5 separate regions of the Homo sapiens genome follow, and regions 1, 2, 3 and 5 are each linked to region 4. Evidence: promoter capture Hi-C in human tissues and cell types (Jung and others, 2019). All regions are on one chromosome and are shown on one strand. Each heading gives the region's core, a stretch centred on a gene start or on the middle of the fragment in contact. The rest is flanking DNA. Distances are from core to core; before and after follow the strand shown. Region 1 has its middle 26 kb from the start of LINC02977. Region 2 overlaps SUSD1 (sushi domain containing 1). Region 3 overlaps SUSD1 (sushi domain containing 1). Region 4 holds the start of SNX30 (sorting nexin family member 30). Region 5 overlaps UGCG (UDP-glucose ceramide glucosyltransferase).

What was found. Contacts are between HindIII fragments. The study calls those that stand out against the background at their distance.
Region 1: a fragment that was not itself captured here is called in contact with the fragment with the promoter of SNX30 in region 4 in 2 of the 25 tissues and cell types used here (adrenal gland and mesendoderm cells).
Region 2: a contact is called between a fragment that was not itself captured here and the fragment with the promoter of SNX30 in region 4, in 1 of the 25 tissues and cell types used here (IMR-90 fibroblasts).
Region 3: a fragment that was not itself captured here is called in contact with the fragment with the promoter of SNX30 in region 4 in 1 of the 25 tissues and cell types used here (IMR-90 fibroblasts).
Region 5: a fragment that was not itself captured here is called in contact with the fragment with the promoter of SNX30 in region 4 in 2 of the 25 tissues and cell types used here (IMR-90 fibroblasts and lymphoblastoid cells).

Annotation. Positions count from the first base shown.
Region 1 is chr9:112,011,772-112,016,359 of GRCh38, forward strand. No RefSeq gene overlaps it. Among named protein-coding and RNA genes, the nearest start is that of LINC02977, 26 kb to the right of the region's middle. RefSeq lists enhancers at 320-369, 480-619, 860-909, 950-1,189. The HindIII fragment of the contact is 6,094 bases long and covers 1-4,588 here.
Region 2 is chr9:112,137,044-112,141,902 of GRCh38, forward strand. The region is part of intron 5 of SUSD1 (sushi domain containing 1); the gene reads right to left. It also overlaps the pseudogene RNU6-855P. Among named protein-coding and RNA genes, the nearest start is that of SUSD1, 36 kb to the right of the region's middle. The HindIII fragment of the contact is 5,677 bases long and covers 536-4,859 here.
Region 3 is chr9:112,116,696-112,121,415 of GRCh38, forward strand. All of the region lies in intron 6 of SUSD1 (sushi domain containing 1), which reads right to left. Among named protein-coding and RNA genes, the nearest start is that of SUSD1, 56 kb to the right of the region's middle. RefSeq lists an enhancer at 3,799-4,370. The HindIII fragment of the contact is 3,368 bases long and covers 104-3,471 here.
Region 4 is chr9:112,749,294-112,754,063 of GRCh38, forward strand. It overlaps SNX30 (sorting nexin family member 30), which reads left to right and starts at 1,467. Exons shown (of 9, transcript NM_001012994.2): 1 at 1,467-1,864. The coding sequence starts at 1,709. It overlaps SNX30-DT (SNX30 divergent transcript), which reads right to left and starts at 1,272. Exons shown (of 1, transcript NR_186503.1): 1 at 1-1,272. RefSeq lists a silencer at 1,225-2,044 and enhancers at 1,314-2,235, 2,236-3,155. The HindIII fragment of the contact is 10,773 bases long and covers 1-4,770 here.
Region 5 is chr9:111,912,033-111,916,800 of GRCh38, forward strand. UGCG (UDP-glucose ceramide glucosyltransferase) reads left to right here. Exons shown (of 9, transcript NM_003358.3): 2 at 2,573-2,714. Among named protein-coding and RNA genes, the nearest start is that of UGCG, 18 kb to the left of the region's middle. The HindIII fragment of the contact is 3,334 bases long and covers 473-3,806 here.

The DNA of each region.
Region 1 (4,588 bases), core at 725-3,224, 740 kb before region 4:
AAGTTGCCTGCTGGCCAAGCTTATAGAGTGAAGTTGGACATCCCTGTTGTTCCCCTGGAAATCTTTGCCAGAGCTGAGAGCCTCCATACCCAGAGTCAGAAAGACCTTTCTAGGCTCAACATGCAGTCATGGCTCCCGGACACCCTGTCATCTTCCTGAGATTCTATGGAGGGTGGGCCACAGAGCCCCATTATTTTAAAAACTGTGCATATCCTTTCCTTCCCTTGGGGAATAATCTTAAGGACTGTGTCTCTCAAAAACACTCTACCACTTCTTCTCCTAGCGCAGCATGCTCAAATCCCTCAGAGTGAAGGAGGAAAAAGTCAGGACGGAAAGTGATGTGCAGGCTTCTTCTTTGGGCCCTGAAAGCTCAAAGTCCTGGCTACCTGCCCTGAAGGCTGAGTAATGTACAAAGAAAACAAAGACAAATAACTCAGTAAATTATCCGGCCTAGGATCAGAGCTTTCTAGCCCCAGAGCAAGCTCAGGCCTCAACATTCTAAGCTTAAGAGGTCAGGCTGTCCCTCCATATTTCAATGGGTACAGGTCTTGAGTTTCCTCAGAAAACCTCTGAAGGGAGGTCACAGTTATGGGGACAAAGAAGGAAAGTGTTGGATTCAGGACACCAGGCTCCACTGAAGGTGACTCATGGTTTTGGCTTGCAAGCAACGTTGCTGATCACTTTGACCAACCACAGGTCCCTGCCAGCTGCACTCCTCTCCAGGAGCACTCCTATTTTTATATGTGTGGTACAAAGAACTCCTACCAGCTAATTTCCACTTCCCCCACAAAAGCCTGTTTTACTTCTGCTTTGAGTAAAAAGCTTTCCTCTTTCTGGTCTCAAAGCACACACTCAACAGTGCCTGTAATTCACAGTCATCTGGTACCCTTGGCTTATCTCAGGCCCCTGTAGTAACAACTGGCTCCAAGCATGTCTCCTACAGCCACAAGCTCCAGTGGGGTAGCCAGGTTCACTGGAAGAGAATGTTCCCTACACAAGGGAATCTGAGACAGAAAAAGTCATCCTCAGAAAGTAGGGACTGGTGGACATGTGAGCCTGGGAAATGAGAACAATTTGTGCTGGGAAGTTGCTCATGTAAAGAGTTCACAGAGCAGGTATCTGCTGCCCAGGCTTAAACTCTCAAGTGGAAAATGGAAACCATCATTCCAGATTGGCTTCTTACCCTGTATCTGTGCATTCATCAACCTTTGACAATAAGGTCATTTCTTAGCCCCACACATAGCATATAGGAAAGATTTATCCAAGCCCTGCTATTATAGATGAATAAATGAAACACATTCAGGAGGTTGCCCATACAGTATTTGCCTCATTTTCCCCACAGCTCTAGAGAAAGGACATTTTATAAGTTCTGTCATTCCACAGAGCTGTACAAAGCCGCCTGGCTTAACTGACTTAATTTCTTTTTTTTTTTTTTTTTAGAGACAGGATCTTGCTCTGTCACCCAGGCTGGAGTGCAATGGTGCAGTCATAACTCACTCCAGCCTGCAGCTCCTGGGCTCCAGCAATCCTTCCACCTTGGCCTTCCAAAGCACTAGGATTACAGGTATGAGCCACCATACCCGGCCTTCACTTTTTTTTTTAACTTGACAAAATGGTTCTTAAGTTCAAGATGGTTAGCATACATCTGCTTTCAAGACAGAAAGAGGGGGAAAAAGAAGGAACAGCCACAGTTGTTCACGGTATCAGCGAAGTAAAAACTTTCCCAGAAACTCCCCTAGTAGACCTCACTTCTGCTTAATTAACTGGAACTGTACTTTCTGTCTGCCCAGAGCAACAAAGGAGATTGGGAACTTGAGTGTTCAGCTTCTTCAGCCCCTAGTGAGGAAGAGGAGAGGGATTTGGATGGTATAGAAGGAGTCAGTCTGAATTCTGCTTCAAATAGCTAAACAATTTTGAAAACTAAAAGCCCAACAGGGAAAACTAGCTCTGCTCTCTATTAAAATTATAAAATTATAGAACTATGGGATATAGTTTCATACAATATCATAAAACTATAAGAATAAAATCAAAGTTGAACACACAGGATTTGGCAGAGATTAATAGGAGAGACAAATTAGCCCAGAAACAGATCCTAATACTCAATATAAGGGTTTTTCTGTTTGTTTTGTTTTGTTTGTTTGTTTGTTTTTTGAGACAGAGCTTCACTCTGTTGCCCAGACTGGAGTGCAGTGGCGTGATCTCGGCTCACTGAAACCTCTGCCTTCTGGGTTCAAGCGATTCTCCCGCCTCAGCCTCCCGACTAGCTGGGATTACAGGTGCCTGCCATCACATCCGGCTAATTTTTGTATTTTTAGTGGAGATAGGGTTTCGCCACATTGGCCAGGTTGGTCTCAAACTCCTAACCTCCAGTGATCCACCCACCTCGGCCTCCCAAAGTGCTGGGATTGCAGGCAGGAGCCACCGCGCCTGACCAATATAAGACTTCTTTAAAAGCCATCACAGATTTCCCAGGAAGAAAACTTCCATTCAATATAATAAACATTGGTGCTATTGTGCTGGAATAATTGGGAAGAGAATATATTCTCACCATATCAACCGTTCTTACCATGACATATATAAAAACTAAATCCATAAAGAATAAAATAAAGGAGAATAATTTTGTACTCTTCAGTCAAAAGACAAGAACTGAGCAGAAAGCTTGGCAGGTAGGAGGGAAGGACTGGGTATGGTTATGAGACCACCAGGGCTGTGGCCCCCACAAGTAGGATACTGAAAAAGGTCAGCAAGGCAGGACCAAACACCGCTTAGTGATGTGGCTGTATCTGTGTCAGTGAACAAACAGCCTATGGGCCAATTCCAGTTTGCCAGCTGTTTTGGTGTGCTCGCAAGCTAAGAATGGTTTTTATACTTTTACATGATTGAGGAGAAAATCAGCAGAATAATATTTCATGACATGAAAATCATATGAAATTCACATTTCAGTGTCCATAAATAAAGTTATTGAGACACAGCCACACCCATTCATTTAGGTATCATCTGTGGCTACTTTTGTGCAACATGGCAGACTTGAGGACTTACAACAGAGAACACCTGGCCTACAAAATCGAAAATATTTATTATCTGGCTCTTGCCAGAAGAAGTTTGCCAATTCCTCAGCTCCATGATGAAGTGAGTTTGCTGCGTAAGGAACTTGTGAGACTGAATCAGCCATGGCTGTTGTTGGAGGGAAAATTAATCCAGAGGGGAATTCATCATCTACCCCGACTGATGGGCCAGGGTCCCTTCCTCTCTTTGAAGCTGATGGTCTGAGCAGAGGATGCCTGCACTAGCAGTCAGGTGAAGTTAAATTTGCATTTTGAAGTTCCCAGGGGCACAACTTCTATCTCCCCTAGAACGAGGCTGAGTTTTCCAGGAAATTTGAAGTGAGAACTGGGAAATGTGGAGACTTCTGAGAGGGCTGTAGAAGGAAGAGGGAAGATGAGCTATAGAGAGATTAGGGAAAGAGGGCTCTGCACGGAGCACCTTATTTCTGGAGGTGGTTAGAACTTGACCTTTATGATATATAAGGGGAATGAGTAAACAGAACAAAGTCTCAGTTTCCACTCTGTCGATAATACACGTACTCTTCATTAACTGATCTGTGATTGTCCTATTATTAGCTAGCGTGTGTTTGGTCTGTGGAAACATTGTGAGCAGAAAGTTCTAGGGCAGGAGAGAGCAAACATTGTTATGCCACTTTGTTGGGCTCTGGCAGAAATGATTCTATAAATTCATCAATCCCCTTTCATAGATGATGATGATGATGATGATGATAAAAATAAAAAGAGCAGTTAGCATTTAATGAGCATTTACTATGTGCCAGGAGTATGGATTATATAATTTAAACCTCAAAATCATCCTTTGGAATTATGCTATTGCCATCCCAATTTATTCAGATGAGGAAGCAAAACATGTTAGGTGAATCATCCAAAGCCACCCAACTGGTAAGTGATGAAGTCAGGGTGCAACCTTAGTGGAGGGACCCCAGAGATCACGCTCTTAACCCCTATCTTGTCCTGTCTACTTTGCCAAAGAGTCACAAATCTACCAGACTGGTTGCTACAGTGAGAGACCTGAGACCAAAAGCAGTAAAGATGGTTCTCCCTGGAATGAGAGAGCATGCAGCTAAGTAGCCTAATTTCCTGCCCTCCTTCCACCCTGTAGATTAATAAGAAACACCTTCATACCACAAAAATGAAGACCACTGCCACATGCAGGGTTCATCCAGAATTGCTGTTTCAAGTGCTCTTTCAAAAGCAAAGGGAGCAAATGCTTTCTAAATGCCTCATATTAAATAAGGAAAGCAAATTCTCCTTTTTATTTATATTTATTTTTATTTTTATTTTGGAGATGGAGTCTCGCTCTTGTTGCCCAGGCTGAAGTGCAGTGGTGCGTGCGATCTTGGCTCACTGCAACCTCTGCCTCCCGGGTTCAAGCAATTCTCCTGCCTCAGCCTCCAGAGTAGCTGGGATTACAGGCGCCCGCCACCACGCCTAGCTAATTTTTTGTATTTTTAGTATAGACAGGGTTTTACCATGTTGGTCAGGCTGGTCTCCAACTCTTGACCTCAGGTGATCCGCCTGCCTCA
Region 2 (4,859 bases), core at 2,124-4,623, 610 kb before region 4:
TTGGTGCATAAGCTCATGACATACAGTAAGTCACTTCCTTATCCTGGTCCTTAAACTCCTCTGTGAAATGGGAAATAATACCAATCTATAAAACTTACACACCTTAAAGAGCTGGCCACCTCTAGAGAATCAGGCTTTGCTATTAATGGACTTTGGAAACCATGTGCTCAGAAAGGAGCAGGCACAGCAGTGAGAAACCGAGGCCATGTAGTGACACAGGGGAGGAGGAGGAGGAGGAGGAGGAGGAAGGTGTCAGCGGGCAGAGGGAGCAGTTATTAGAGAAGGAAAAAAGAAGCGAAGATCTTTTAAATAACAGTTCTTTGGGAAAATGCAGCAAGCACTCTCCTCTAAATTAATTTTCTACATTCTCAGTCTAATAATCCAGATGATGGCTAATTTTCAAGGCAATCTAAATGGTTTTATATGGGGTTTCCTATGTAAATCCTTAGAGCGTTCTTTGATAGGCACTATGGCACATTTTAATCTAAGTTCTGCATTTTAGTTGATCCATTGAAAGATCATCTTAGAACTAAAATGTTATCTTTAGAAATTCTTAACCCCTGAGGATGATAATTAATGATCAAAATGCGTGTAGAGCCTACACAGCAAGTCAGAATATCAAAATGATTAACTTAGCCATGCACATCACTGGGGTTTCTTAATTATGCAATAAATTCAATGAAAATTGTGAGGGTTTCTCTTTTCTCCAAAATGAAAACAGGTTTCTTTGTCTGATATGTGAAAAATTCCATCATGCTCACTTTGGCAGCATGTATACTAAAATTGGAACGATACAGAGACTAGCATGATCCCTGTGCAAGTATGACATGCAAATGCATTAAGCATTCCATTAAAAAAATTTCTTTCAATACAGAAAGTATATAAAATATAAAAATTGGCTGGGTGCGGTGGCTCATGCCTGTAATCCCAGAACTTTGGGAGGCCAAGGTGGGCGGATCACCTGAGGTCAGGAGTTTGAGACCAGCCTGGCCAACATGGCGAAACCCCATCTCTACTAAAAATACAAAAAATTAGCTGGGCATGGTGGCAGACACCTGTAATCCCAGCTACGTGGGAGGCTGATGCAGGGAGAATGGCTTGAACCCAGGAGGCAGAGGTTGCAGTGAGCTAGATTGTGCCACTGCACTCCAGCCTGGGCAACACAGTGAGACTCCATCTCAAAAAAAAAATGTGTATATATATATATATATATGTGTATATACATATATATATATATGAAGTCCAGGATCCCAAACCCTCCCATTGGAAACTATCACCATTAACATTTTGATGTATGGCATTCTAAACATTTTTCTAAGCTTATCTGTATATAGGAACTTTTTCAAAATTAAGATTATTATTCATAGAATTTGTAACTCTGAAACATACTATTAGTACTTATCTATGTCAATAAATATTCTTTTTTTTTTTTTGAGACGGAGTCTTGCTGTGTCACCCAGGTTGGAGTGCAGTGGCACAATCTCAGCTCACAGCAACCTCCACCTCCCAATTCTCCTGCCTCAGACTCCTGAGTAGCTGGGATTACAGGTGCACGCCACCACGCCCAGGTAATTTGTTGTATTTTTAGTAGAGATAGGGTTTCACCATGCTGGCTAGGCTGGTCTCGAACTCCTGACCTCGTGATCAGCCTGCCTTGGCCTCCCAAAGTGCTGAGATTACAGGTGTGAGCCACTGTGCCTGGCCTGCAATAAATATTCTTTTTTAAATATTGTTTTTCTAACATAATTTTATTGGATACATAATATTCCATTTTAAGGGATTGATTCACTTAACCAATCTCTTGTTGTTAGACATTTGAGATTGTTTCTAATATTTCACTACAATAAATAGTTATAAACAAATATAACCACAGCAAATTAGAAGGCTTTACACTTCTTTGCATGCACAAATAAATTGGAAAATCTGGATGAAGTAAATGATTTTCTAGAAATACATAATTTACCAAAATTGATCTTAAGAGGGAAAGAAAAAGAATGGACATGATTAGATATACCAGCAAGTATAGGAAGAATTTAAAAGTAGTCCAAATAGTCCAAGGGCTACCTCTCCAATAGTGCCACATCCAGATGGTTTTATAGGTGAAATCTCCCAAATCTTTAAAAATTCTATTTGTAGTATTCCAGAAATAGAGAAAGAAGGAAATTTTTACATTCTTTTTTTTAAAATTCAGAATAACATTAATACCGAACTGAACAAAGATGGCACAGGAAAAGAAAATAGAGCAATTTCACTTATGAATATCAATGCAAGATTTATAAGTAAAATTTAGCAAATATAATCCAAATGAAAGGAATAAAACACCAAAAACCCAGATTAATTCATTCCAGCAATTAGTACTGATCATTATCAGGAAATCTAACAATATAACCCACACATTATTATTATTATTTTTTCTTTATGAGATAGGATCTTGCTCTGTCACCCAGGCTGGAGGGCAGGGTGTGATCATGGCTCACTGCAGCCTCAACCTCACAGGCTCAAGTGGTCCTCCCACCTCAGCCTCCCAAGTAGCTGGGACTATAGGCATGCACCACCACTCCCAGGCTGGTCTTGAACTCCTGGGCTCAAGCTATCTGCCTGCCTGGGCCTCCCAGAGTGCTGGAATTACAGACATGAGCCACTGCATCTGGCCACATCGTTATTTAAAAGAAGAAAAAAAATATATAATCACCTGCCTAAAAGACATGATAAAAATAACTTATTTCCAATTAAAAAAAAAAGAAATTCCTAAACAGTGGGAATAGATTGATGTTTCCTTTAGATTATGGACATATAGCCAAAAACTAGAAAAATGGTAATTAAAAAAATTTTTTTTCACTTTTCAGATGGAAACAGGCACATAAAATGATAATATTTGTAGACAGAGAAACAGAAAACCAGGTCAAGTGTGGTGGCTCATGCCTGGAATCCCAGCACTGTGGGAGGCAGAGACAGGCAGATCACTTGAACCCAGGAGTTCAAGACCAGCCTGGGCAACATGGCGAAACCCCATCTCTATAAAAAATACAAAAATTGGGGCCGGGCGCGGTGGCTCACGCCTGTAATCCCAGCACTTTGGGAGGCCGAGGCGGGTGGATCATGAGGTCAGGAGATCGAGACCATCCTGGCTAACAAGGTGAAACCCCGTCTCTACCAAAAATACAAAAAATTAGCCGGGCGCGGTGGCGGGCGCCTGTAGTCCCAGCTACTGGGGAGGCTGAGGCAGGAGAATGGCGTGAACCCGGGAAGCGGAGCTTGCCGTGAGCCGAGATTGCGCCACTGCAGTCCGCAGTCCGGCCTGGGCGACAGAGCGAGACTCCGTCTCCAAAAAAAAAAAAAATACAAAAATTGTCCAGGCATGGTAGTTCGTGCCTGTAGTCCAGTTACTCAGGAGGCTGAGGTGGGAGGATGGCTTGAGCCCAGGAGCACCAGTGCACTCGAGTCTGGGTGGCAGAGCAAGACTCTGTCTCAAAAAAAAAAAGAAAAAAGAAAAGAAAAGAAAGGAAAAAGGAAAAGGAAAAAGAAACAGAAAGCCAAAATTTTTAAAAAACTAACCAAAAGCCAGTGTCACCATAAAAGCAGAAGCAGCAAAACAAAGTGGCTGAAAATAATTCTGAAACTAGAATTCCTGGGTTCAAGTTCAGCTCTGTCTCTAGTTGTGTGACCTTAAACAAATTACAGTCATGCATCATTTAACAATCTGCATACATTTTGAGAAATGCATCATTAGGCAATTCCTTCATTGTGTGAAGTCACAGAGTGTACTTACACAAACCTAGATAGTAGAGCCTGCTACTCACTTAGGCTGTATGGTATACCTATTGCTCCTAGGCTACAAATTCACACAGCATGTTACTATACTGATTACTGTAGGCAACTATAACACAATAAGAAGTACTTATATATCTAAATATAGAAATGATACAGTAAAAATACAGAATAAAAGATAAAAAAATGATACACCTGTAATAGGGCACTTACCATGAATGGAGCTTGCAGGACTGGAAGTTGGTCTGGGTGAGTCAGTGAGTGAATAGTGAGTGAATGTGAAGGCCTAGGACATTACTGTACACTTTTATGTATAGTAATGTACATACAGTAATATACATACAGTAATGTACTTGCTGGCAGAGCAGTAAGTTTGTTTACACCAGCAATGCCACAAACACGTGAGTGTGATGCACTACAACATTATGATGGCTACGATGTCACTAGGCAATAGGAATTTTTCAGTCTCATTATGATCTTATGGGACCACTACAATGTGGTCCATCATCATATATAAAGTGCTTAAAATAATACTTGGCACACAGTGCCATATGAGTAGACATGATTAGATATGCCAAATATCAGCCAGGCGCAGTGGCTCACACCTGTAATCCCAGCACTGTGGGAGGCCAACACGGGCAGATAACTTAAGGTCAGGAGTTCAAGACTAGCCTGGCCAACACGGTGAAACCCCATCTTTACTAAAAACACAAAAATTAGCCGGGTGTAGTGGTGGGTGCCTGTAATCCCAGCTACTCGAGTGGATGAGTCATGAGAATCGCTTGAACCCAGGAGGCAGAGGTTGCAGTGAGCCAAGGTTGTGCCACTACACTGCAGACTGGGTGACAAAGCGAGATTCTGTCTCAAAAACTATATATATATATAAAAAATATATAATATATTACATGTAATGTATTATATATAATATATATTACATGTAATATATAATATATAATACATTACATGTAATATATTACATATATTGTATATATTGTATATTATATATAATATATGTTATTCCCACATGACGTTTTTATATATATATGTATATATATACATATATGTGTGTGTATATATATGTATATATATAT
Region 3 (4,720 bases), core at 538-3,037, 630 kb before region 4:
CAGAGACAGTGAATGGCCCAATGGCAGAACACTGGGAAACACTGAAACCCAGGGGGGAACCAGAGGAAAAAGGCAATGCAGAAGAGAGGCAGGAGGCTGGTAGAGTGACTGATGTCTAGGAAGGAAAGGAAGGACTTGAAAGAGTGTCTCTCAGCCTTCCAAGGCCAGGCACAGTGGCTGACACCTGTAATCTCAGCACTTTGAGAGGCCGAGGCAGACGGATTACTTGAGGCCAGGAGTTCAAGACCAGCCTGGCCAACATGGCAAAAACATGTCTCTACTAAAAATAGAGAAATTAGCCAGGTGTGGTGGTGCACACCTGTAATCCCAGCTACTCAAGAGGCCGAGGCACGAGAATCACTTGAACTTGGGAGGCGGAGGTTGCAGTGAGCTGAGATCGTGCCACTGCACTCCAGCCTGGGTGATACAACAAGACTCTGTCCCTAAAAAATAAAAATAAATTCTTTTAAGAAAATTATCAGCCTTCTTTCCCACCAGTCTCCCACAGCCTCCTCATCCCCTAGCCAAGAAGGGCCTGGAGCAGGTCAAGGCAGAGGGTGCAAACTCCATCTCCCTCTCTCCTCTCACATGGCTTTTCTCCCCTCATGGAGTGCCCACGGCATCAGGATTAGATCTGTGGTTTGACTTTGGGTAGAGGTGGGAAGAGCAGGCCCTCAGCCTGCCCAGTTGTAGAACACAGAGGCCTCTCTGGCTTAAAAGAAGGAGGCCCCCACAGTGTCCAGCTGAAGTCTCACTGGATTTGGGGAGAGAAAGTCTCAGTGAGTGATAAAGTAAGAGCCTTTGTTTTGCTTTACTCTATGTGTGTGTGTGTACACACAGGTACATATATATGTTATGTATATATAGATATAGATGTACATAATGTTATGTATTTTGGTATTTTGTTAGCATCTAGTATTTCTGTATGTGGTACTTAACACACTTGTAACTAAATACGTAAGTCATTATATAATGACCACCTCTCCTGAATGTAACTTTACGATGGCAAAGACCATGTTTCTCTCTCTATCCTCAGGCCCTAGCACAGTGCCTTAAATATAGATACTAAAAACTATGTATTATTTGGTTGAACTGGTTGAATGGATGGATAAAGGATCAACAATGCTAAATGTTGTGGAAAGGTTGAGAAGAATGACAGCTGAAACTGGAACATGAAATTGGCAGTTAGGTAGTCATCAGTCACCTTGGTGAGATGCTACAGTGAAGTGGGGGTGTTCGATGCCTGGTTTCCCCCCAGTAGGCTGAGAAGAGCATAGGAGGGGAGGGAATAAGACAGTGAGCCCAGACTACTCTTTCAGAAGTCCCACTGTGCAAGGACAGGGGCTGGTCTAGTGTACTCCCTTGGTTTCCAATTTTATATCCTTTTTCTTTATTTTTGGAAACAGCAAAAGGTCATAGAGAATAAATCCAGGTGACCCAAACAGATGGTCAAGCAAGCTCAGCATCATTTCTAGTCAAAACAGCATCTGATTTCAAAAGGAATGTAACTGATCTTCTAATACGGCTCATAAACTACCTCCAAAGGACATTATCAAATAGGATTCCAAGGCAAACACATGATGATAATGGCAGCACCACAGAAATCAGGGTATGGCTTCCCACAGTGCCTACTTGAATAAATGTATGTTTGGCTATAAAAGTTTTCATGTGTTTCCTTTCTTTCTTTGAAGTCTTAGATTCACATAAAATAAGTAGGAGTAGCATGGCTTAGAGTACGTTAGTGTAAAATATATTGCACACTTTGGGATGATTTTTGGTGGCACGCGAATACTTTTTTTCTTTTTTGGAGACGGAGTCTTGCGCTGTAGCCCAGGATGGAGTGCAGTGGCATGTTCTCAGCTGACTGCAACCTCCGCCTCCTGAGTTCAAGTGATCCTCCAGCCTCAGCCTCCCGAGTAGCTGGGACTACAGACGCGTGCCACCACACCCAGCTAATTTTTGTATCTTTAGTAGAGACGGGGTTTCACCATGTTGGCCAGGCTGGTCTCAAATTCCTGACCTCAGGTGATCCACCCTTCTCGGCCTCCCAAAGTGCTGGGATTACAGGCGTGAGCCACCGCGCCCAGCCAGGAATACATTTTTATCTGTTCGTTATGTATCAGTTTTTGTGTATATCAGAAAAATACACCTACTTCATCAAACTCATGAGATCACATATATTGTCCTTAATAAATTTGAATTATAAATTTAAGGTTAGGTTGTTTAAGGAAACACTCTAAGTAAATAATACTCTTATTATGGCAAACATTGTGTCAGGGTGGTATACAAATAATTCAAGCTTGGAAGACACTGATGTAGGAGAAAGAATGTGGTCTTTCTGGGCTTACAGGCCTCAGTTCAAATCCTGGCTCTACCATTTGCTAATTATTGAGTGACCATGTAAAAGTCACTTAACCTTTATGAGTCTCAGATTACTTATCTATGAAATGAAAATAACAAAGCTTACTTCAAAAGGGTTTTAAGAGGATGAAATGAAATCGAGCATTAAGGTCCCTAGCTGAGCCCTGGGTGTGTACGTTCATGCTCAGCCAGCAGTAGCTATAATGCTTGATGGTCCAAACCTCATTCACATATTCCAATACATCCGGCCATGTGGCTATTTATGTAAATGTATCCATTTATTCCGGCTGACCTTTCTGTTCCATCTGAAATGTGTGTGGCTGCAACTGAGCACCCAGTGGGCTGGAGAAGAGGGTCACCAGCCAAACAGAAGGGACAGAGGCCAACAGGAGTCCTGGAGGCATCAGAGCAGTGCCCAGAGCAGTTTAGAGGCACAGAAAGGATCCTAGCGATAAACAGCCTCTGTTCCAGCAGAGATGTTACCCTTCTGAGAGCGTGGAGTGAGTGAGCGTCAGCCTTATAATCATTAACTCAGATTCTAAACATGAAAAGCCAAATGGCCTGTGCAGAATGGAAGCCAGGGAAAGTCTTATCAAGAATGAATCAGTCTCTTTGATCTTGAGGTAAACCGACTCATTAACATCAAGCTTCCACCTGGGGTTTTTCCAGACACGAAAGTGATTGCCTAATTCCCAGCTGTCTGGAGTTTCCAGTCCAAACTGGCCTGGCGGGGAAGGAGGGGGCAGGAAAAAATAAGTCCCACCAGCTTGATAGAGCTCACACCCCATTAAAAGCACATACGATTTGTGCTACTAATCCCAAAGACTAGTGGCTTCCTTACAAACAACCCAGGTAAAGATAAATTATTCTACCCAGTTTGGAACTAAACAGGAAGATGAACAGTGAAAACAGGACAGAGGTAGGAGGCATTCAGAGAGAAGCAGAAAAGTAGAAAAAGATGAGAGGGGAAGCCAAACGTGAACACGAAGACAGGGAAATATAAAATACACAGAGGCAGGAGGATGGCTTGAGGCTAGCAGTTTGAGACCGGCCTGGGCAACATAGTGAGACACCCGTCTCTACAAAAAACATTTTTAAAATTTAGCCATGCGTGGTGGGTCATGTCTGTAGTCCCAGCTGCTTGGGAGGCTGAGGCAGAAGGATCGCTTGAGCCCAGGAGTTGGAGGCTGTGGTGAGCTGTGATCACTGCACTTCAACCTGGGTGACAGAGTGAGACTCCATCTCCAACAACAACAACAAAATACACAGAGACAGTTGGGATGAGGGGAGTGAAGAAATAGGTAACAAGTGAAAAACAGGGAAAAGAAAAAAGAAGAGGGGTAGCTGAGCAAGAGCCATGGTAATCAGCAGCTCTCACTACATTACCAGAAGCCTCTCCTACCTACCCACCCAGAGATCATCTGCACTGTACCATGAATTAATCAGCATGTAAATCATCCCCTTTATCTGCGGAAATTGAATTTAGCTGCCAATCCTGATTGAGGGCATAAAGGCCTCCTCACAGAAAGATCACAGCTCTCAGGGAGAATGCCTTTTCTTTTCTTAAATCAAAGCTTGCATAAACCCATGGAAACAGCTGCAGCTGGAGCCACAGACTTTGTGAAAGGTAGCAGGCTGAGGATGGTAATTATAATTAGCAGTTACATAACATGTTTGTTCTTCAAAGTGCTCTACAAGCATCAGCTAATTAATAGCTTACTATGCCCCATGCAGATCCACTGGTTTTTCATGCGGTGACTAATTCTTATACCCCCATTGACTGCTGAATGTTGGAGGCAGAGCAGCTTGAGCAATGAAGCAAATGGCTGAGGCTCACAAGCTATACCCAGCTCTTACCAAGTGACTCCAGCAGTTGTTCTGTGTCGGGAATACTTCCCCAAACATTGAATTCAGCATTCCAGGAGGCAGCTACCTCACCTCCTCCAAATAACTCTTGGAGATGCTTTTGCAAATGCCATGATAGGTTGGAGTGACCATCAGTCTAGTCCAGCGTGGCATTAGCTCCAATTATTAAGACTGGACCCCCCTAGAGTCTTTGGTGTCAGTTACACGTTTGCCCTTGCTCCTCTGTGCAGGCTGGGCAAGTCAATGAGACCTCTCTAAGAGAAGACTGCATTGTATCTCTGGGTTCTTATCCAGCTCTACCCTTCTTTGTTTTTCTGATTGCAGTCTCTGGCCTACATCCTCTTGAATTCGCGATGGAGATAACCAAATATAGGAATTGCATGGCACATACAGGGCCTCAACAGCAGAGGTGAGCTTTCCATCTATCCCAAGAATGCTTTACTCAAGGATTTCAGAGGTCCAGGAACACCTTGCTACTTGTAAAACATTATAT
Region 4 (4,770 bases), core at 217-2,716:
CATTCAATAAGAAAAACCGATGTTATACATCTATAGATGTATATACTCATTTCTAGAAATACTCATTTCTAGTTATATTGTGCTATTCATTTTCATGCTAATTCAGAAGAACAGATAATAGGGTCTGTAGTAGTTGTAAGCAGCCCTTGAATGTGAAAGTGTTAACAATTTTAATCCAACTCCAAGAGGACCAGAACTTGGCATTCCTTAGATGCAGCATTTAAAATTGTTCCCAGTGCCCTTTGAATGCTACTTTTCCCAGCCAAGGCAGGCTTATGTGGAGGAGATAAAGATGATAGCTTGAGGACTAAGGGTCCAACCCTATATAAATTACATTGGGGGAAATAGGGGAAGGTCTTTGAAGCTCAGAGTCTCTGACTGATATTTTGGGTAGATTTCAACCCTCTGCATTCTCTTCTATTTGTTTCTAGAGAAAACTGTGGTAGAGGCCTTAGTGAATCCCAGAGTCAACATCTGTCATCACCTTTTAGCAGGTAAGGCTAGGCAAACCTTTGAGTTTGGAATGGGTAGGGAAAATGTGGTCCCTCACGATGAGCCTCCCTACCCATTACTTTGCTAGAGGGACTGAAAACCCTTTAAAGACTTGGCCTTGGAAACAGAAGATCTAGGGACAGGTAAGGTGGAAAAAGGAGGTGAACCTACACCCCAAAGGGCTGGAAGTAACACCTTGACTATTTGCACCACGCCAGCAAATAAAGCTGAGAATCAGCTCAGCCCAAGGCCTGGAAAGGAAGCACAAATGCATGAAGAATAACTTGAACCTCATGGTTCTTTCAAAAGTCTCTTCGGCCAAAGTGTGAGTTGAAGAGTCGCATATCATTTGAGACTCTCTACTCATGCTCGCTGTTCTGAGGTTTGACTTTACACAAATCCAGCTCAGCTGCAGAAGCAAGCCACAATGGGGACCTCAGAGTGAGCCTGAAGACTCCCCACACCGCCTCTTTGAAGTCCCTTCCAGGTTCCCCACCCGATGTCCTCTAGCTCATTTGAGCCTTGTCGCCCTTTATGCTATTCTTCCGATATGGGTCGTAATTCCGTCTATCTAGGGTTCTTCCTGCGCGTGCCTTAGAGGCCAGAAGACCCTGACTCACGTGCGTGTCCTCAAAGCCCCCAGCCCCAAGCGTGGCTGCTGGTGGGCGCATCAGTAAACGCGGGTGGAACGGAACAGGCTCCTCCAACCTCTTTTCCACCTCTGATTTCCGTTAGACATTTGCTCCGCACGGCGGCCTCCGCGAGGCAACGTTGGACACTGGGAGGACAGCCGCAGAGGCCCAGGGCGCACTTCCTGCCGGGCGGGGGCGGGGCCGCGCCTCCTCCCTCCCTCCCTCCGTCCTTCCTTCCCCACGTGCCCCTTCCCCGCCCTCCCCGCCCCCTCCCGGGCGGCCGCGGCGCCTCGGGGGCGGGGCCGGAGCGGGTGGGCGGTGTGGCTGTGTGGGCTGGGCGCCGCGGCCGTGCTGCCAGCGGACCCGCGGCGGGCTCGGGCGCGGAGCGGGGGCGCGCGGCGCGGAGCGGAGCGTCTGAGCGCCGGCAGAGACCAGCCGGCGGGTGGCGGCGGCCCCCAGCACGGCCGGTGCAAGGCCTCGGGTTAAGCGGCGGCCGAGCGGGGCTCGGCCCGGGGTGCTCGGGGAGCTCGCCGCGGCGGGCAGCAGGAGGAAGCGGCGGCGGCGCGTCCCGAGCGGTGCGCGCCATGGCGGGCGGGCCCCCCAAGGCCCTGCCGTCCACGGGGCCCCACTCCCTGCGCGACATGCCGCACCCGCTGGCCGGCTCCAGCAGCGAGGAGGCCGTGGGTGGTGACAGCACGCCCAGCCCGGACCTGCTGATGGCCCGCAGCTTCGGTGACAAGGTGGGGCGCCTGGGGCCGGGGAGTGGGAGGCTTATTTCGCTCCCCGTGGGGGGGATGATGGATCCGGAGCCTTCGTGGGCCTGGGGCCGCGCCCACCCTGCCGCCCCTTCCCGGGGGACGGGCGTGTCCTGGCCCCGGAGCCCTCGGCGAAGCGTCTCCTCTGCCGCCTCCGCGGGGTCGCAGCCGCAGAGGGACAGGCTTCGCTGCCTGTGACTGGTCGCAAGCACCGGTGACAGCTGGTGGGGAGGGGTCCAGCCTGCGTGTTGGAGCGGGAGGCGTGTGTTCAGGGCAGGGCGCCTGTGTCCTCGGATGGGGTTCCGAGTTCCTCCAGGTGCATCCCTGCAGGCTGAGCTGCTGCATAACTTGTAGCTCCTCCAGTTTCCGAGACTGCACAGAAAGCAGGAGTTCCTGGCTTTCCGTGCTGGGACCGGGCAGCCCTGGGCTTACAGCGAGAGTCTTCTTCCCCCTAGTCAGTCATGTGGGGAGTGATCTTTGTTTAGGTTTGCTGTTTGTCCTGAGGAGTCACCTGACTCAGACCCCAGCCGGCGGCGGGAGGAGAGCCTCGTTGTGGTTTTCTGTCTGGGGCTCCATTCACCTCCGACGGCCTACCACTCTGTTTAGGTTTGGCAGAGGCTGGTTTTGTGGTTGATGGAAAGAAAGCTCGCCCTTTGACCTTCTTTGTACGGAGGGAGGCTCCAGATTTTCTTAGAGCAGCACAACCCTCCTGCTGCTTGGAGAGACAGCAGAGTCCAGGCAGGGGTAAGGGACGACCTCCTCCCTACCCCCATGGCCATTTCAGCTGTGAAGGAGACTTGAGCAGTGATTGTATCCCCGCTCCTGCCGTCACTTAGTCACTAACTGCAGAAATTAGAATTGTTCTCAGGTCTTGTGATCAAGATTTTCTCTCCCTAGTAAAATACTAAATGAATTCCCCCTTGTCCCAATATTAATGGGAGCAGGGGACCTAACTTTCTTCTCCCGTTAGAGGGGACACCATGTGGTACAGTGAAAAAGGAGTATGAGAAAATATAACCTGCCCTCCTTGCAGTCAGAAGGTCACTGAGCACTTAAAATCACTAGAGAGTGCGACTTGATGTACCTTCTGCAGAGGGTTTGTGAAAGCAGGGAGTGAAGTTCCAAAGCATTAGGAACAGGAAAATTAAAAAAGCTAATGGAGGCCAGGTGCAGTGGCTCACACCTGTAATACCAGCACTTTGGGAGGCTGAAGTGGGATGATTGCTCTGAACCAAAAGTTTGAGACCAGCCTGGGCAACATATCGAGACCCCGTTTCCACATACGCACACAGCATGGTGGCATGCACCTGTAATCCAGGCTACTCAGGAGGCTGAGGCGGGAGGATTGCTTGAGCCTGGGAGTTCAAGGCTGCAGTGAGCTATGATTGCACCGCTGTACTCCAGCCTGGGCAAGAGAGTGAGACCCTGTCTCCAAAAAATGTTGAATAACTGAATAAATTTGCTTTCTTATCGACAAAAATTGGTCTTAAAATAGTGTAGGAACTGGGGGTTAAACCTCATTTCCTTCTCAGTTCTGTGTGGGACACTGAATTAATTATCTATTGCTGTGTAGCAAATTACCCCAAAACTTATCACCTGGAAATAGTGTCTGTGGGACAATCTGAGTGGTTCTGAATTAGGCCTTTCTTGAGGTTGCAGTCAAGTTGTTGGCTTGGGCTGCAGTCATCTGAAGGCTGGATTAGGGGAGGATCCACTTCTAAGCTCACTCACATGGCTGTTGGCAGGTCTTAGTTACTCTCCATAGGGCTGTTTGATGTGGCAACTGGTTTTTCCCCCCAGAGCAAGTGATCCAAGAGAGCTCAAGACTCTAGCCAGTCTTGTATAACTTATCTTGGAAATGACATGCCTCTGCTGTATTCTGTTGGTCACACAGATTGACACTGGTACAATGTGGGGAGAGGGTGTGAATATCAGGGTGTGTATACCAAGAGGTGGGGATCATTGGGCCATCTTGGAGACTGGCTACTACAGATAGCCATTTAAAATATTTACCTAACGATTCACTCATGGATGATACCTGACTCAGAAGTATGAGCATTTTACTAATAAGCACTTGGAAGACAAATTCCCCGTACCACCAAGATCTGGTTAGTGGTGAAGAAGTCAGTCTCAAGTCTAATTACCGATGGCTTCCTTTAAAGGGTCTGTTCTGTGTAGGAGGGAGAGTCTTGAAGGCATTATTAATTATTGAATATATATGTATTTTTTTGAGCAGAGACTTACTCTGTCACCCAGGCTGGAGCGCAGTGGCCTGATCCTGACTCACTGCAACCTCCACCTCCCTGGTCAAAGTGATTCTCGTGTCTCAGCTCCCGTATAGCTGTGATTACAGGCGTGTGCTACCTTGACCAGGTAATTTGTGTATTTTTAGTAGAGACGAGGTTTCGCCATGTTGGCCAGGCTAGTCTCGAACTCCTGGCTTCAAGTGATCTGCCCTCCTCGGCCTCCCAAAGTGCTGGGATTACAAACATGAGCCACTGTGCCTGGCCTAATTATTGAATATTTAATGAATCTCCTAACAGCTGTGGGGAGCATCTAAATGACACCATTCTCAAGGGCCTGATTTATAGTAAGCCACTTTTCCTTAGAGGCTAAGCATTGTAATTTCTTTCTCTGACTAGGAGTAACATTTTCCTTGAATCTTGGCATACACGTATGGTCTCATAACTCTGAAGAAATTTCTGTAGAGAGAAGCTAGCAAGCCACAGAGGTGAGTCAGAGCCAGAAGAAGGAAGCCTTCCCTGTGGCTGGCTTTCTCCTACCTCAGCAGCATGAGGGTCATCAGAGGGGTGTTAGGACAGTTCAGTGCTATGGTCTGTCTTTGAAAAGAAGCCAGTTTTGTCTTGTTAGATACTGGGGTTGTGATCCTG
Region 5 (4,768 bases), core at 890-3,389, 840 kb before region 4:
TATATATATATATATATATATCCTGTTGAATCAATTAATTGTGTAATATAAACTTTTTTCCCCAGCAGTCTAGATGTTCTTTACCTGGTGGGTTTCAGGCATCTAGTCTGCTATTTTGTTAGAAATAGAATAGTGATTACTTTTGTGGTTATATGCGTTTTAGATCGTGGTTTTACCTGTCTGGTCCTCCAGATGAACTCTGTAGAGCAATATTTTCCAAACTATCTATGGCAAAGCAGTTGTTCTTTAAAATTATCCAATCTGGCTGGCTGTAGTGGTTCACACCTGTAATCCCAGCACTTTGGGAAGCCGAGGCGGGCAGATCACTTAAGATGAAGAGTTCGAGACCAGCCTGGCCAACATGGTGAAACCCTGTGTCTACTAAAAATACAAAAAGTTAGCTGGGCATGGTGGTGCATGCCTGTAATCCCAGCTACTTGGGAGGCTGAGGCAGGGGAATCATTTGAACCCGGGAGGCGAAGGTTGCAGTAGCTGAGATCGCACCACTGCACTCCAGCCTGGGTCGCAGAGCAAAACTCTGTCTTAAAAAAATAAAAAAAAAAAAATTCCAATCTGCCATGAGCCAATACTTTGGTAAACTACAATAAAAATAAATTGCTGATCACATGCTTGATGTCATGGCAATGTTAAATTGCTATACAAGTTTCTAAAAGGTTTCACTCAATTGTTTCTCACTTGCAAACCAGTAAAAAGCAATGCTGGACCAGACCACACTTTGAGTAGCACTGCGATAGATGGTGCTCCAGTATTTTCTGGTACTTGGTGTATCAGAAATTGATACCACCCTGTTCTTTAAATTTCTTGTTGGTTTTAAAGTTTTTCCATTGTAAACCTGGTGTGTGTGTGTGTGTGCGTGTGTGCACGTGTGTGTAAAACTGTATGGCCTTATCTAAAACGTTAGATGTTTGCTACAGCACACACCTGCCTTAGTTAGAGACCAAGCCCATGGCTAAGTGGTCTGGGTGGTGGTACCGGTGTCCCTCCAGAAGTCTTTCCCAGTTTAATAGTGGATTTTATCAAATCAAGATGCATTGATGCAAGTATTTTTTGATCATCTAGAAGTTCTCATTGGTTGATTTTCACAGTAAGTCAGAGCTGCCATCTGCCTGGCAGCAATTGTAAGGTACCATTGATGTCAGAGATGTTAAAATGTGGAAGAACATGTGTCTTAGAATATCTTGCAGATGGACCCATGATGTTCTAGTGCCTAATTACTGTCGAATGCTTGGAGACTTGTTTATGAGAAGTACTTGTCACATATTTACTAGAAGTAGGAGGAAGGCTTCAGTGGCTTCCTTTAGAAACTTCACCACTGTATTGAATGGCATCTTGTTGCAACAGCCTGATGTTAACTGGGGCACGTTCTGTCTTCTCTAGCATTGCTTCTTTCTTTTTTTTGAGACGGAGTCTCACTCTGTCACCCAGGCTGGAGTGCAGCGGCACAATCTTGGCTCACTGCAACCTCCACCCCCGGGTTCAAGTGATTCTTCTGCCTCAGCCTCCCGAGTAGCTGGGATTATAGGCACCCACCACCACGCCCAGCTAATTTTTTTTTTTTTTTTTTTTAGTAGAGATGGAGTTTCAGTGTGTTGGCCAGGCTGGTCTCGAACTCCTGACCTCAAGTGATCCACCCGCCTCAGCCTCCCAAAGTGCTGGGATTACACAGGTGTGAGCCACCACACCTGTGTGGCATTGCTTCTTTCATTAGGAGCCCTGCTGTGCTGCAGCATCCTTGCAATGGACAAGCAGTGAGAACGTTGGCCATTTGGTCACTTATCTATGAACTGGTGGCACTGGTATATCTTCCAGTGTCATTAATAGACATTTTTCTCATCATTGAGTTTTTTTCTTACTTTCAGTTTCCTTCTGTTCTACCCCTGCCATTCTGACCTTATTAATATTGGGAGTTCCAGTTGTCCCATTATCTTGCTTGCCATGCAGACTGCTTGACACTTCTTTTAACTGTGTATTATCCCACTGCAAAGAAATTTCTCAGAAAGTTCTGGTTATCCTTTCATAATTTTCTGCTGCAGACGGTGTTTTATTTTACCTGTTTTTATAGTTCTGTGGCCACTTCAGTGGCAATTTAAGAGGAAGAGGAGTTAATCTTTGGGCTAACACTGCCATTCATTTCTTCACCATGTATTTTATTGAAATGCCTGCGCTATGCCTGGCATAGTTCTGTGAGTATAGCAATAGTCAGAGAGTAGTACATCATGGGTATTCAATCTTTTGGCTTCCCTTGGTCGTATTGGAAGAAGAAGAATTGTCTTGGGTCACATATAAAATACACTAACAATAGCTGATGAGCTTTAAAAAATCGCAAAAAATCTCATAATGTTTTAAGAAAGTTTATGAATTTGTGTTGGACCGCATTCAAAGCCATGCTTACCTGGTTCTACTTCCCTTCATGTTTAGATCCTCTTTTAGAAAGATGTCAAGTTTTAAAAATCTTAACTTAGAATTTAGGGATTTATTGATAGCTTGTCAGTGCTTTGATTTGACACTAATGTATTCTATAGAAATAATTTTTATATCATTTGCTTTTTAGCCGATTACACCTCAACAAGAAGGCAACTGACAAACAGCCTTATAGCAAGCTCCCAGGTGTCTCTCTTCTGAAACCACTGAAAGGGGTAGATCCTAACTTAATCAACAACCTGGAAACATTCTTTGAATTGGATTATCCCAAAGTAAGTTCAGTGTTACGGTTTTTTGTTTTGTTTTGTTTTGTTTTGTTCCCCTCATGATAAACATTTAGGGATTTTAACACTGTATAAGGTGAAGGTATTAAAAATTCATGATGATATTGGCCTCATAAAATATAACCTTTAGTAGTAGTCATCACAGAACAGAAATAGGTTGAGGAAGGGGTGTAAATTCCCTTTCTAACCACCTATATGTCCGTGTGAAGTAGAGATCCCTGAGTAAACCTTCTGAAACTCAGACATTGTCAAGTGCCTGGTAGTTTGAAAATAAAAATTTTCTTCCATAAGAGCTGGATATGAACAATAGGAAGAGGAGACAAGGAGAGGGAGAAAGCAGTGTTAGTGGTCTGAAATGGGTTGCAGTACAGCCAGAACTAAACGTGACTTCTCCGGAGAAACTGGCTTTGAGCCAAGAATAGATTACAGTTAGTGGTACTGTAGGGTTTCATCTTACCTCATTTTTAATTTCCTTACTGTTCTGATTTTAATAGCTAATTGTATTGCTTATACCATTTATCTATATAATCTGTATATCTGTAAACTCAGTGTACTCCCTTAATTGGAGACCTTCCAGTTTTCTTGAGATGAAAGTATTCTTTTTATCACTTTGCTTTAGTAGTCCACCTGTAGTTTCTTAGGATAACTTAATATTCTTTGATTTTTGTACTTAGCTTTACAGCAGCTTTGTATTAAATTGCTTGAGACTGCTTTTGAAAGGGCATTTTGGTGGTAACAGATCACTTGTGAGAAGAATGTGTCTTTAAGCTTCTACCCACTTGACTTTCAGTACAGTTTAGTTTTCCCTTTGCGGTCTCTATTCACTTGCCTCAATTTTTACCCTATTGCCTCAGTTTTTCCATAGCTGTTTTTGCTACTGGGAGAGTCGTCCCTCTTAATTTTTTTGGACAGGGTAGCTCAAATAATCAGAAGGAAGATGATATGCGCACTACACTTCTTATGGTGACTGGTTTTCATGCTCTTATTTCTTTTCTTTTAGCCTTTATTTTTCTCGGTAGCACCAATGAAAAGAATAGAGAAGACACAGATGTGATAGCCTTAATGCAGCACTTATTAAGTAGGTAGACATGAGTATCATTCAGTTGTATTTTTAGTGTTTTTATATTATTGCTTTGGAGTTTTGGAGTTTAGAAGCCAATTTTGGAGTATTGGAAGCTGTTTTGAAGCAAAAAAATTATATGTTCTAGTTTGTGTGTGTTTATATGCTTAATAATTTTAGATATTTGAATTAAATACATGTGTTAACTTCAATCAAATATATAATTTTTAAATAAGATATAATTGTATATACTTGTTTTTTCAAACTAAAAAATGGTAAAACTTAGCCTTTTGTAATTGAGAAAGATATAAATAAAATTAATTGTAAAATAAGCTTTGCAGTAAGAAAAATGGGAGATTTTCAAGCTCCATAAAAGTAAATGCAAAGGAGAATTAATGTTTACGAATGAAAGAAATTTTCTATTGATTATGAATGAATCTTAGAGCATAGCTTAGAGTCATATGCATTATCATTGTGAAACTTAATCTCACATTTCAGTTTTTTAACCATCCTCTTTCACTTTCCCCATTCAACCACTCTTAAAATTGGTCATGGAATTTTTACGTTGTAGTGCTTGTGAGATGATAGTCATGGGGTTTAAATGCTTGAGGAAGTCAGTGAGGGGTTTAGTTGTAGAAAGAATGGTTTTTTGTGTTCGTTTTTGTTTTTAAGACAGTATCTTGCTTTGTCACCTAGGCTGGAGCATAGTGGCACAGTCGTGGCTCACTGCAGCCTCAGCCTCCCAGGCTCAACCAGTCCTCCCACCTCACCCTCCCTGGTAGCTGGGACTATGGGCATGTGCTACCACACCTGGCTGATTTTTGTATTTTTTGTAGAGGGTGTTGCCATGTTGCCGGGGCTGGTCTTGAACTCTTGGGCTCAAGCAATCCCCCCACCTCAGCCTCCCAAAGTGCTGGGATTACAGACATGAGCCACCATGCCCTACTGAAAGAATTTTAAAAAGTAACCCCAGGGTTATATG